Regions from separate parts of the Homo sapiens genome. Here region 2 is linked to region 1. Evidence: promoter capture Hi-C in human tissues and cell types (Jung and others, 2019). All regions are on one chromosome and are shown on one strand. Each heading gives the region's core, a stretch centred on a gene start or on the middle of the fragment in contact. The rest is flanking DNA. Distances are from core to core; before and after follow the strand shown.

The links. Contacts are between HindIII fragments. The study calls those that stand out against the background at their distance.
Region 2: the fragment with the promoter of SYVN1 here is called in contact with a fragment that was not itself captured in region 1 in 1 of the 25 tissues and cell types used here (dorsolateral prefrontal cortex).

The regions. Positions count from the first base shown.
Region 1 is chr11:64,770,716-64,776,403 of GRCh38, forward strand. SF1 (splicing factor 1) reads right to left here. Exons shown (of 13, transcript NM_004630.4): 3 at 2,715-2,790. Among named protein-coding and RNA genes, the nearest start is that of SF1, 5.0 kb to the right of the region's middle. RefSeq lists an enhancer at 2,021-2,110. The HindIII fragment of the contact is 3,858 bases long and covers 2,504-5,688 here.
Region 2 is chr11:65,133,116-65,139,485 of GRCh38, forward strand. It overlaps SYVN1 (synoviolin 1), which reads right to left and starts at 1,404. Exons shown (of 16, transcript NM_172230.3): 1 at 1,341-1,404; 2 at 355-503; 3 at 45-137. The coding sequence starts at 486. RefSeq lists silencers at 7-183, 1,900-2,083 and enhancers at 785-854, 1,143-2,046, 1,405-1,914. The HindIII fragment of the contact is 5,976 bases long and covers 1-3,250 here.

The DNA.
Region 1 (5,688 bases), core at 3,183-5,682:
CATCCCCTGGAGTCTTCTTGCCAAATACGGATTTTCTTCCATTTGAAAAAAAATACATATCCCAACTTTATGAACCACAGAAACCCCAAGTTTAGGCAAAAGGTTAACTCTTGGAGAGCTCATGCCCTATGAGGAAAAGCTTCTGTACCCCTAACACATAGTATGTATGAGCTCTTTAACCCAATGCAACTGGGACTGAAGGCTACTGCAGCTACTTGGCCCCCACAATGGAGAGAGATGGTTCGCTTCGTCTTTGCTTTTCCTTCAATGGCCTGGCTGGCTGTGTCCAAGGCCCAGGAGACAACCTGTTTTCTGGCTGTTCGAGGTTGGGGAGTCTGGGTAGAGAAAAACGTTAAAGTGCTAAAGCAGCTTCTGCGAGAGGCTGCAAATGCAGATTTGGTCATACTTGTCTAGGGTCTGAACCTGCAAACAGCAAGGGGAAAACCTATGATTCTCCACCAGAGTTTACAAGTCCAGAAAGCAGATTTTCTCTCTCTCATTTTTTTAAGGAGTAAAATGCTGTTGCTACAAGTAAAAAAATGTAATGATAAAATGGTCAGTTTACCACAGCTGGATTTTGCGGTAATAAAAAAGAGAGGTTACACTCCTAGAATTTTGAGTTAAGATTACAAAAAGGACCATAGCTTGATATTCTGAATGAAAATTTAGTAGCAGCTGCAAGAAGGGAAGAGACCATGTGGATCAGGTTATTAAAAAAACATACTGAAAGTAATCAAGACTCCTATACCCTTGGTTTAGTTGAGAGAACCTTGCCTAGTTGGAGAGCAAGGACTGAACTCGGCTGCTCCCACTGTCTTCAGCCTAAAGGGAACCATGTCACACCACGTTACACACACGATGGAATAAAAGGTCAGGTTTGTTCATGGCTAATGACGGCTAAATGACACCTCCGTTTCTAGCATTTGTATAAACTGTTAGCACAATCCATTAAGAGTGAACAAAAGCAAACATACCCCAGCTCATTAGACTACCATCTTATACATTTAAGTCTACAAGAAAAGTTTTAAACATGTTTTTACTGTGCAAGTTAAGCAGCATCAAAATAACAATAAAGTGGCTTAAGTGATATAACACCTTTTTAAGAAATTATCTTAATTAAGAAAACCCATGCATTTCCCTCCAACCTGGGCTCAAAAGCAAAACCAATCAGGCATTAGGGCCTCTTTCAAAACTGAATAGAAGGGAGGAAAAACCCTGCTCTGGTTTTATTTCTAACATGCTTGACATTTCTAATTCCCACCCCACAGCTGTCTAGAATTAAGCATTCTTAGCTAGTTACAAAAACAAGTCTTACCAGCACCCAATTGGCCATGTGAAGGCCTCACAACAGTTTAACCTCCTCCCAAATTGCAGAAGTGAAAGGCAAAAGCTAGTATTCTAGAGGTTAGACTGGCCCGACTTCTTCACCTCCAACAGGCATCGGCTAGATCAACTAAATTCTAATCCCAGTTATCCAGGAAGCAAAGAAGGTTTGTTAAAAATTCAACCTTTGGAGGAATTGACTGGTGACCTGTAGACATATTATTAAAGGGAAAAAGGCCAAAAAGGCACTAAACAGTTGTGGTCTATGACCTACAATGTAAATTTAAAAAAAAAAAAAATCTTCAAAAAGAAACGAAACACAACACAACCCTACAACCAAAATCTATCTATAGGTAAAATATAGCAAATGTAGTAAGTCAAATTAAAGAGTCAATATGGAGAAACAAGGAAGTTAATGTTTCCTGGCAAAGGGCGGAAGAAAGATGCATGAGTGAGTGACTTCTAAAGCCATTACATCATCTTCCTGATTTAATAAGCTATTAACTGGGTAACAAAAACCAAAAACACTACTTTTTAAAGCAAAGTCTTTTCAACTATTCTGTATGTACTAAGAGAAAATTCAGTGAGAGGGAGAGACTTACTGCCCTTCTAATTAAATGACCAATTTTAGCTGTTCAATCAGCTAATAAAATTCCAGTTTAAAAAAGTTCATCTCCCCCACACAATTTATTTTTCTGAGGTGAGAGAAACTGCAAACTGAAATGACATGACCACAGCTGTTTGAGGCCCACGCTCCCTTTAAGGAAAAAAAAAAAGTAATTTAGGGTTGGTTGCATGCCTTCCCAAAATAGGTGAGAATATTCTGGCCCCTCCCAACACCCCCAAGGCAATGGCCAAGGCTGAAAGTTAACTGGCAGTGAAAGAAGTTGGTTAGAAATCTCATCTGATTTTGAAACCATCTCAAAACCATGAGCAGGAAGACTGCAGCAATGAGCTGACCAGAGCTCCTGGCTTGCTCAAGTTCAGTGATGCTCAAAAATATTTTTAGTCCCTGCACTGTGTACCTGTGAGAAAAACTCTATGCCCTGGGCTTTTGGCCAAAGCAGGTACTGAAAAGGCAGGTTAACGGGCCACCTCACTGTCCCCTAAGGGTGGGTAAATCAGGTTAAGATCTACATGCTTACCAATTGGAAACCAGTTGTCCATTTTCCTGTAACTTTTTATTCTCCCAACATTTTTAAGTTTTATTCCAATTTTCTAACTGTTGACTGACCATACATATTTCTAATTAAACCTTAATCCCCAAAGTGGTCAGGGTACAGTCGTCATACTATGATTTTATTGAACTGACACAATATGTTGCCACCAGTAAAACGTATTGAGAAAAAGGTAAAAGCGTTACTGTCAGCTGGTTAAAACTGTTTCCCAACCTGTCCTCAGGGTTAGGGGGGATGCCCAGGTCTCCTGTGCGCAGTTTACGAGTCAGGTCTTCTATCTGCAGTTGCACTGGAAGAAACCAGGTTAGGAAAGAAAAAAAAGGATGGAAAAAAGACAATGTTACCAATAAACATCTCAAATCTCAACAACAAGCATGAAGAACTCGGAGACTTTGAAAGGGACGACTGATCAGTGAACACATTGAAGCAAAAACCCCCAACCACCTATCGGCAGGAGTCCTTTTACATCTATAGGTTTTTTTCACTTCAAAATGGTTATCACTTAAGGAAGCAAACAGTTTGTTGGAAGAGGGGTTAGCAATAAAGACTGTTCACTAAGGCTAACATCCAAGCAATTATTAGGAGGTGTTTCACCTCTTCCTCCCCACCAAGGCTTGCTTACCATTGGTACCCAGAACCATAAACCATGTTACGTCACCAATACCCGACTCCCATCAAATTACTTGAGGGCAAGAATTGAGTTTTTTCTTCATTAAATGTTAAACATAGCCCAAAATGAGACCCAATTAACATGGGACAAGGAAAAATACCAATTGAGCAAAGATCATTTTCATTAATACATTTAAAATTCCTTAAATAAGACATTTAATAACAAAATTCAACACCTTATAGAAATTTGTACATACTCTTTCTGTACAACCAGACCTGTACTAGTAAGGGTCTCCCAATACCTGCAGCTCTTATTCAATTATATGAAATATTTATTCAAATATTAAATGACAAACCACATATCTTAATAAACCAGTAACCATAAAGTGCTAAGAATTTGTTTTCAGGCTCACTGTTCATATGGGGAGCAGGCGTGTAGAAGAATGGAATGTGTGTTCAAGGACAATGTACTTGGCCCTCGGGCCTTGACCAATGAGGCTGTGCATGAAAAAGAGAGATGAGGGTTTCACAAAAGTTGCCAGTGACGCCAGGGAAATGTTACACAGCTGATTTTCCAAGATAATGGGAACTGCAGAGCCAGAGCAGCTTTCTTCAACATGCGGAATAACCACCTGTTCCTTACCTTCGCAGCATCTGAGAATTTTCAGCAGGCATCTCCAATAAGGGCAAATGTTACTAGGTTGGGTTAAAACTGAGCTGGCTCCAAGATAGGATTAATGCGTGTCTAACCAAAGATTCCTTCTAACTTTAAATACATCCACAGGGCTATACCACACCCACACACTAAAACCCTGAAGAAATGAAAACCCATTATTATCGAAAGAAAATACTGGCCGGGCACAGTGGCTCACACCTGTAATCCCAGTACTTTGGGAGGCCAAGGCAGGCAGATCATGAGGACAAGAGATCGAGACCATCCTGGCCAACATGGTGAAACCCCGTCTCTACTAAAACTACAAAAAAAATTAGCTGGGCATGGTGGCGTGCGCCTGTAGTCCCAGCTACTTGGGAGGCTGAGGTGGGAGAATCACTTGAACCCGGGAGACGCAGGTTGCAGTGAGCCGAGATCGCACCACTACACTCCAGCCTGGCGACACAGCAAGACTCAGTCTCTCAAAAAAAAAAAAAAAAAGATATTGAGGGCATCCTGGACAAAGCAGTATGTACCGTGGGAGACAGAAAAGTAGTAAGACACATGGTTCCCCAAGCTCCTTTATGCCTAAAAAGTTCTGACTTTGCAGTTGAGTATTAAGCTCAACAACTCGAGGTGAAAGTCACCTTCACTGAGGGGAGAAGGTGAGTCTTCCTAGCTGACTATGGAGATGTGGGGCCTGATCTAAATAAAAAGGGTCATTCTCTTCTGTGGAGAACTACACCTCTCCTTTGATTCTATTTTGATTATAGCTATAAATAGTCCTTAGGGCCCAGTGAACTAACTAGCCCTCCACAAAAACAGAAATGGAGATATAAAGAATTTGTGCTCTTCCCATCTTCTAAGTATGCTTGTGTTCTTGGGATATCACTCCACTAGGGGCATTTCACAAGGATGTAAAGACCCAGACTAGTCTAATATGAGACACAATGGAATGGGTGGGAGTAGACAGGAACAGTAGGGGAAAGAACAAGTATTAGTAGTACTGTGAAAGGAGACAGACAATTCCAACGCCTCAAAATTCTCAGCAGTCTAAAAAACAGGAAATTAAGACCCTCAAAAGTAGTAACATGCTGGCCTTGAAGCTTTTTGGTTGTGAAGGCCACAGCCTCGTAGGTTTAGGAGGTCTTTGCCCGAATTTCCTCCAAAGGGGATGTTTATTTGGTTAGTAGGAAATGTTTATAAAGTGAACTTTTTTGAGACAGCTGCACAGGTATATAAAGATAAAACTTGCATTAAAAACTTTTTTTTCCAAAAAAGCAATTTTGAGGTTAATTTCAATTCCACTGTGGATAGTCATTAATTCTCAAAACCTCCCAGCAAATAAAACCTTTTTATCCTAGCACTTCATTCCATATCCATGCAATATCCCTTTCCCAGCAGAGTTCTTTAAAAGTAAATACAAGAGCCTTCATTTTAAGACAGCTCTCCATAGACCAAACCAGAAAAGATGTTGAAGGGAAGGTTAAACTCTTAAATTCAAGAAAATAAAAAGGGGTAAATTGTAAACACACTTTCAGAACCACTTTTTGTCATTTTTTTTTTTTCAGAAAGTACCTATAAAAAGTAAAAGACCACATTTTAGGGGGAGAAATATAAAATTATGGTGAAAGGCCACGCTGTGAAAAGTACTTGGTTTACAGTACCTGCGGTGTTCTCCACTGGGGCCTGTCCAGAGAGGCAGATGACACTCACCTCATCAACTGGCAATGAACAGCAGCTGAAAAGGGTGGCTGCTGGACTGGGGACTGTTCTTACTCCTAAGTGAAACCCTACCTTCCTGATACTCATGGAGAACACTGCAGTTACGAACAGACCAAAACAAGGAGCTGCAAATGCAGAACTCACTGGGCAAAAACTGACAGATGATACCAAAGTCGTGAAAGTATCTCATCTCAAAAAAGA
Region 2 (6,370 bases), core at 154-2,653, 360 kb after region 1:
TTCCCAGCACCCTGCCCTCACCTTTGGGGCAGCCGACATCTTACCTCCATCTCTGCTGCCCTCAGTTGCCCAAAGAACACCTTGCCCATCACCTTGCCCAGAAGGAAGACAAGGACAAAGGCCTGGATGTACAGGACCTAGGAGTGGGGAGAGGCTGTGGTTTGAGGTCACTTTCTGCTTTCCTCTCCTTGGGACTCATCATGCAGGATCCTCCACATCCTCATCACAGTTTATTCAAAGTTAGGCAGCTGGCGGCTACTTCCCTACTTACCTGACCTCTAGCCCCGCCCCTTGCCCAGGCAGACTCCTCCTTCCCTCCCAGGGAGTTCCTCCCTCCCTGAGCCCTGAACTCACTGCCATGCTGGGGCTGGACTTGGTCAGGTACACCACAGTGGGGTAGAACTGGTGTTTGAGGTAGTAGGCGTGAGCCACCACAGCCCCGGTCAGCGCCAGGCTGGCCGCCATCATCACTGCCGTGCGGAACATTGCCCTGGCCCGGAGACCTGCATGGGGCAAGAAAATAACTTATGTGATGCTCGTGCTGTGCAAAATAGCCCGGTGCCTGGCACAGCCTCAATTCATAGGAGAAAGTGGGGGGGAAATCACATTTCGCCCTCGAAATCATCAGACAAAGAATAGCTTACGCTACCCCATTTTACAAATTAGACTCGAAGGGGTTAAGTGATCACACTGACGCAAGGCCTGGAACCTGGGTCAGTCTTGCTTCAAATCTAGGGCTCTTTCCACGCTGCCTGCCAAGCCGCCTCCTCTAGGGAGGTGATGAGGAAAAGCTGCAATGTTGGAGGAGGGGGAGCTGCACCGCTGACCCTCCGGTGGAGAAGATGGGGTGGGAGGCAACAGCAGAAATCTGCTCCAGGGGCGGGAATGCGCAGCCAGGGCTGAGAGCAGCCAAGGCACAGAGGATAGCAGGCTGGGCAGGCGACAGCGCCGGTGACAGCTGTGTTAGGGTGGGCAGTTCGGACGCCCGCCCTGCGGGAGCGGGCGGGGAACGTCAGCCTGGAATCCTGGGGTCCCCCGACCCCCGGAGTAGTGTCAACTCAGAGCACCACAAAAACAGCGGGACGGGAGAGAGCAGCAGCGGGACGGGAGGAGCCGGGTCGCCCTCGCGGCCGCGCACCTGTGAGCACCAGGAGTTGCGGGCGTCGCAGGCAGGGCCCAGGCTTGAGCAAAGCGGCCGCACCGGCGTCTGAGGTCTCCGGCCAGCTGACAGGCCGAAAGCGTGCGGCGGGGCTGAGGGGCGTGCCGACTCCGGAGACCTCAAGGGGAAGGTTCGGGTCCCGACCCCAACCACAACTCGGGCCAGACTTCGCCCCACTCACCAGGAACCCAGCGCCGCGAGCCCGCTCAATCCGCGCGACTGCGGCTGCCCCTCCGGTTAACAACACTCCCCACCCCCTGCGAACCGGAACTTCGGGGGTCAGACACCTCACTTCCGGCGGCGCGGGGCGCGGCGTGGGTCGTACCAAGTGCGTCCTGCCCTGGCTCGCACTGCGCCCTACGTGGGCCCATAGCAATGGTGTCACCACCGTATCTGGGGTGATGTCTACGGGGAAGGGCTGGGCAAGAGGTCCGAGAGGTGGTCGGAAGGTAATAAGGCAACAGGGGGGAGTCGGAGGTCCCCCTATTATTTATTAGTCACAGATGGTATGGCTCCTGCGCTGAGTGGCCTCCTCGGACTGGGGGACTCGGCCCCGCGAGCAGCTGGGAAGGGGAGCCGCTTGCGGGCTGTACCACCTGGAGCGGGGAGTAGGCCAGGGACAGACTATACAAGCCTGAGGGGAATGAAATGTTTTCTTAAACATTTAGGGAGAGTCACAACAGTTTGACAAATACGGTGCTCTCTGAGAGAACTGGATGCGGAAAACAAAAATTTGTCTTCTCCATGATCACCCCCACAAGTTGTGTGGGAGTGAGTTGGGTCCCGTGGCTGCCACTGATTGGTTGCGATAAGTTACGCGGCCCAATAAGAAAAAGAATGTACCTTTGCTGGCCTATAGAAAGGGGAAAGCAGGTGAGTGGTTGTTAGGGGCGGACAGCTGCGTTGCCTAGGCCCTGGTCCCGCTCCAGTTGGCTGAGAGTAGGGAAAGCTCAGTCCTTGGGCGAGTGATCCCTGGCTGGCCTCCGGGAACGTTTGCCGCGCCAGGACAGGGAGGGACAACCAGGTGTACCCGAGACTGGGAGATTAATTCCTGCTAATCTTGGGACGGAAGTGTTCTGTTTGTTCAAAGGAATTGACTTCAGCGTCGCAGGCCTGCCCGCATCTCAGTGTCTGATTTTGCTGCCCATGTGTTGTTCAGCTCTGAGCCATAAGCAAGACCCCCACTGGTCCTGGGCTGCACTGTATTTTAGTTCGTGTCTGGGTCGCAGCCAACTAAGCCTGCTGATTAACAAAATGGAGCTAATGCATCCACTTTGTGCCTTGCGTTTTCCTCCGTCATCTCATTTAATCATCAATCACTAAGGTTTATGAGCTAGGGGGTGCTACCCCCTCCCCCGAAACGTGGGGCAATTGAAATTCAAAGGCTTACCAAAACCTGTCCTAGGATTGGCGCCAGGTCTGTCTGCCTCTAAATCTCTGTGCTGTTGGTCTCAGCCATCTTCCCTGCCACCTGTTGACTTGACAGTTTCAGCTTATAACCAGTCAGAGTTGGCTTCCCCGTAAGGCCACGTATAACTTTTTTTCCCCCTTTTCTTTTTATTTATTTATTTATTAATTTTTGCGACAGGGTCTTGCTCTGTCGCCCAGGCTGGAGTGCATTGGCGCCATCAGGGCTCATTGCAGCCTCGACCTCCCGGGCTCAAGCGATCCTCCCACCTCAGCCCCACAAGGTGTTGGGATTACAGGCGTGAGCCACAACACCTTGCCTATCTGTAACTTTCTAGTGACTGCATCCAATGGTTGGCTTTCAGCCCTTGCTTGACTCAACCTCTCTCCCCTTCTTGAAAGTCTCCTCCCTAAGCTTCTGTGATCCACATGCCTCTGCTCCTCTTTTCTCTCTGGCTATGCATGTGTCCTCTTCTCTTTACCTGATGTCCTTCTCTTTACTTTTCCTGCATGATTTCCTCTGCTCCAGTCCAGCCCCTGACCCAGGTGCTGATGATTTCCTTGTGTGGTCTCCAGCCGGGATCTATCCTGCTTTTAAAACAGTTCAGTGTCCCTAGACACTGTCTGCACCCCAGCTCCGGAAACGGGCATCATGCTCACTATCTGCCCCCACATCCAAACTGGTAATTAAGTCATTTATTCAGTTAGTCTACAAATATGGATCAAGTGTCTCCTGTTCTAGGGACTTAGGATGTCAGTGAACAAAATAAAGATCTCTACCTTTGTGGAGCTTATCCTAGTAGATGTGACAGCAAACCACAGACATAAGTGAAAAATCTAATACGCTGGAAGATGATCAGTGCTATAGGAAAAAAGTAGAACAGAATAAAGGGGATCAGGATGTGGTGGGGTACTTGAAGCTGGTTGCAGTATCAGCGAGGATAATCGGGTAAGCTTCCTTGAGAAGGTGACATTTGAGCAAAGACTTAAAGGAAGTGAGGTTATGAGCCAAGTGGATGTCTGGGTAAAGAGTTACAGCTCAATAAAGGTGGAGCAGTGCTGCTTTGTTGAAGGAGATGAGTGTGGCTATAGTGGAACTAGTGAAGGGTGCGTAGGAAAGAGGCCAGGGCAAGATCGCATTGGCCATCACAGGGACCTTGGCTTTTCCTCTGAGTGACGTGAGAAGTCATTGGAGGGTGCTGAGCAGAGGTGTGACATGCTCTGACTTAGGTGTAATAAAGTCACTCCAGGCTGGGTGTGGTGGCTGACCCTGTAATCCCAGCACTTTGGGATGCCAAGGCGGTTGGATCACGAGGTGAGGAGATCGAGACCATCGTGGCTAACACGGTGAAACCCCGTCTCTGATAAAAAAACACAAAAATTGGCCGAGCTTGGTGGCGGGCGTCTGTAGTCCCAGCTACTCCGGAGGCTGATGCAGGAGAATGGCGTGAACCTGGGAGGCGGAGCTTGCAGTGAGCTGAGATCGTGCCACTGCACTCCAGCCTGGGCAACAGAGCGAGACTCAGTCTCAAAAAAAACTAAAAAAAAAAAAAAAAAAGTCACTCCAGCTCCTGTGTTGGAATAATCTGTAGTGGGGAGGAAGGCAAGTGTGGGAGCAGGGAAACCAGTTAGGAGGCTCTTGCGGTGCAATAGGCAAGAGAGGACATCCTGTGGGTTCTACCTCCTGAGTGTCTCTAGAATTCATTCTTTCCTTGCCATTTTCACTGCCAGTGTCCTAGTCCAGACCATCATCATCTCATGCCTGGGAAAATGCAACAGTCCCCTTTCCTGTGCTTTCCTCCTCATCCGTTTTCCATAGAACGGCCAGAGAGATCTCCTGACACCTGAGCTCACGTCTTGCCTTCCCTCCCACACTCTGCCCTTCAGGCATAATGCCCAGTTGTGGGGTCTCAGGTGTACCATCCCTACCATGCCCCAGGCAGGCCCATCACCTTTTGCATATGTCTTTCCTTCTCCCAGGAACGTCTTTCTCCTCAAATATCACAAAAAGCATTGCCTACTTCCTCAGGCTGGGGTGGAGTGCATGCCATCATGGCAGGCTAATTAAAAAGAATTTTTTTTGTAGCTACAAGGTCTTGCTATCAGGCCCAGGCTGCTTTTGAACTCCTGGGCTCAAGCGATCCTCCTGACTTGGCCTCCCAAAGTATTGGGATTACAGGCATGAGCCACCATGCCTCGACAAAAAGCAGTTGTACTTCTAAGTACTAACAATAAGCAATCAGAAATTGAAAATTTCAAAATACTATTTACATAGCTTCAAAAAATCAAATGTTTGGCCAGTCACGGTGGCTCACGCCTGTAATCCCAGCACTTTGGGAGGCTGAGGCGGGCAGATCACTTGAGGTCAGGAGTTTGAGACCAGCCTGGCCAACACGGTGAAACCCCTTCTCTACTAAAAATACAAAACTAGCCAGGCGTGGCCGGGCGTGGTGGCTCATGCCTATAATCCCAGCACTTTGGGAGGCTGAGGCGGGCGGATCATGAGGTCAAGAGATCGAGACCATCCTTGCTAACACGGTGAAACCCCGTCTCTACTAAAAATACCAAAAAAATTAGCCGGGCATGGTGGCAGGCGCCTGTAGTCCCAGCTACTTGGGAGGCTGAGGCAGGAGAATGGCGTGAATCCAGGAGGCAGAGCTGGCAGTGAGCCGAGACCGCACCACTATACTCCAGCCTCAGTGACAGAGCAAGACTCCATCTCAAAAAACAAAACAAAACAAAACAAAACAAAACAAAACACAAAACTAGCCGGGCGTGGTGGCATGCGCCTGTAATCCCAGCTACTCAGGAGGCTGAGGCAGGAGAATCACTTGAAACCAGAAGACAGAGGTTGCAGCGAGCTGAGATTGCGCCACTGCACTCCAGCCTGGGTGAAAGAATGAAACTCCATCTCAAAAAAAAAAGCAAATGTTTAATAATAAAATATAATCAAAGATGTGCAAGACCTGTACACTGAAAAGTATAAAACATTGCTGAAAGTAAAGATCCAATAAATGGAGAGATATACTATATCCATGGATCAGAGCACTCCATACTCCTATGATGTCAATTTCCCCCAAATTGATTTATAGGGTTAATGCCATTCCAATCAAAATCTCAGTAGGCATTTTTAAAAAATTGATGCTGATTCTAAAATATGTGAAAATTCAAAAGACCTATAATATCCAAGACAACCTTGCAAAGTATAAACAAAGTTGGAGAACTTATACTACCTGATTTTAAGACTTATTATAGGCTGGGCGTAGTGGCTCATGCCTATAATCCCAGCATTTTGGGAGGCTGATGTGGGCGGATCACCTGAGGTCAAGAGTTTGAGACCAGCCTGGCCAACATGGTAAAACCCTGTCTCTACTAAAAATACAAAAATTCGCTGGGCGTGTTGGTGCGCGCCTGTAATGCCAGCTACGCACCTCTAATCCTAGCTACGCGGGAGGGTGAGGCAGAAGAATCACTTGAACCCTGGGGGCAGAGGTTGCAGTGAGCCAAGATCCCACCATTGCACTCTAGCCTGGGTGATAAAATGAGACTCTGTCTCAAAAAAAAAAAATAAAAAAGACTACTATAAAGCTACAGTGATTAAGACAGTGTGGTTTTTGGTGTAAAGATACACATGTAGGTTAGTGAAACAGAATGCAGTCCGGAAATAGAATAACATTTATATTCATTTTCTTTTTTTTTTTTGAGACGGAATCTCGCTCTGTCGCCTAGGCTGGAGTGCAGTGGAACCATCTCCGCTCACTGCAAGCTCCGCCTCCCGAGTTCTCGCCATTCTCCTGCCTCAGC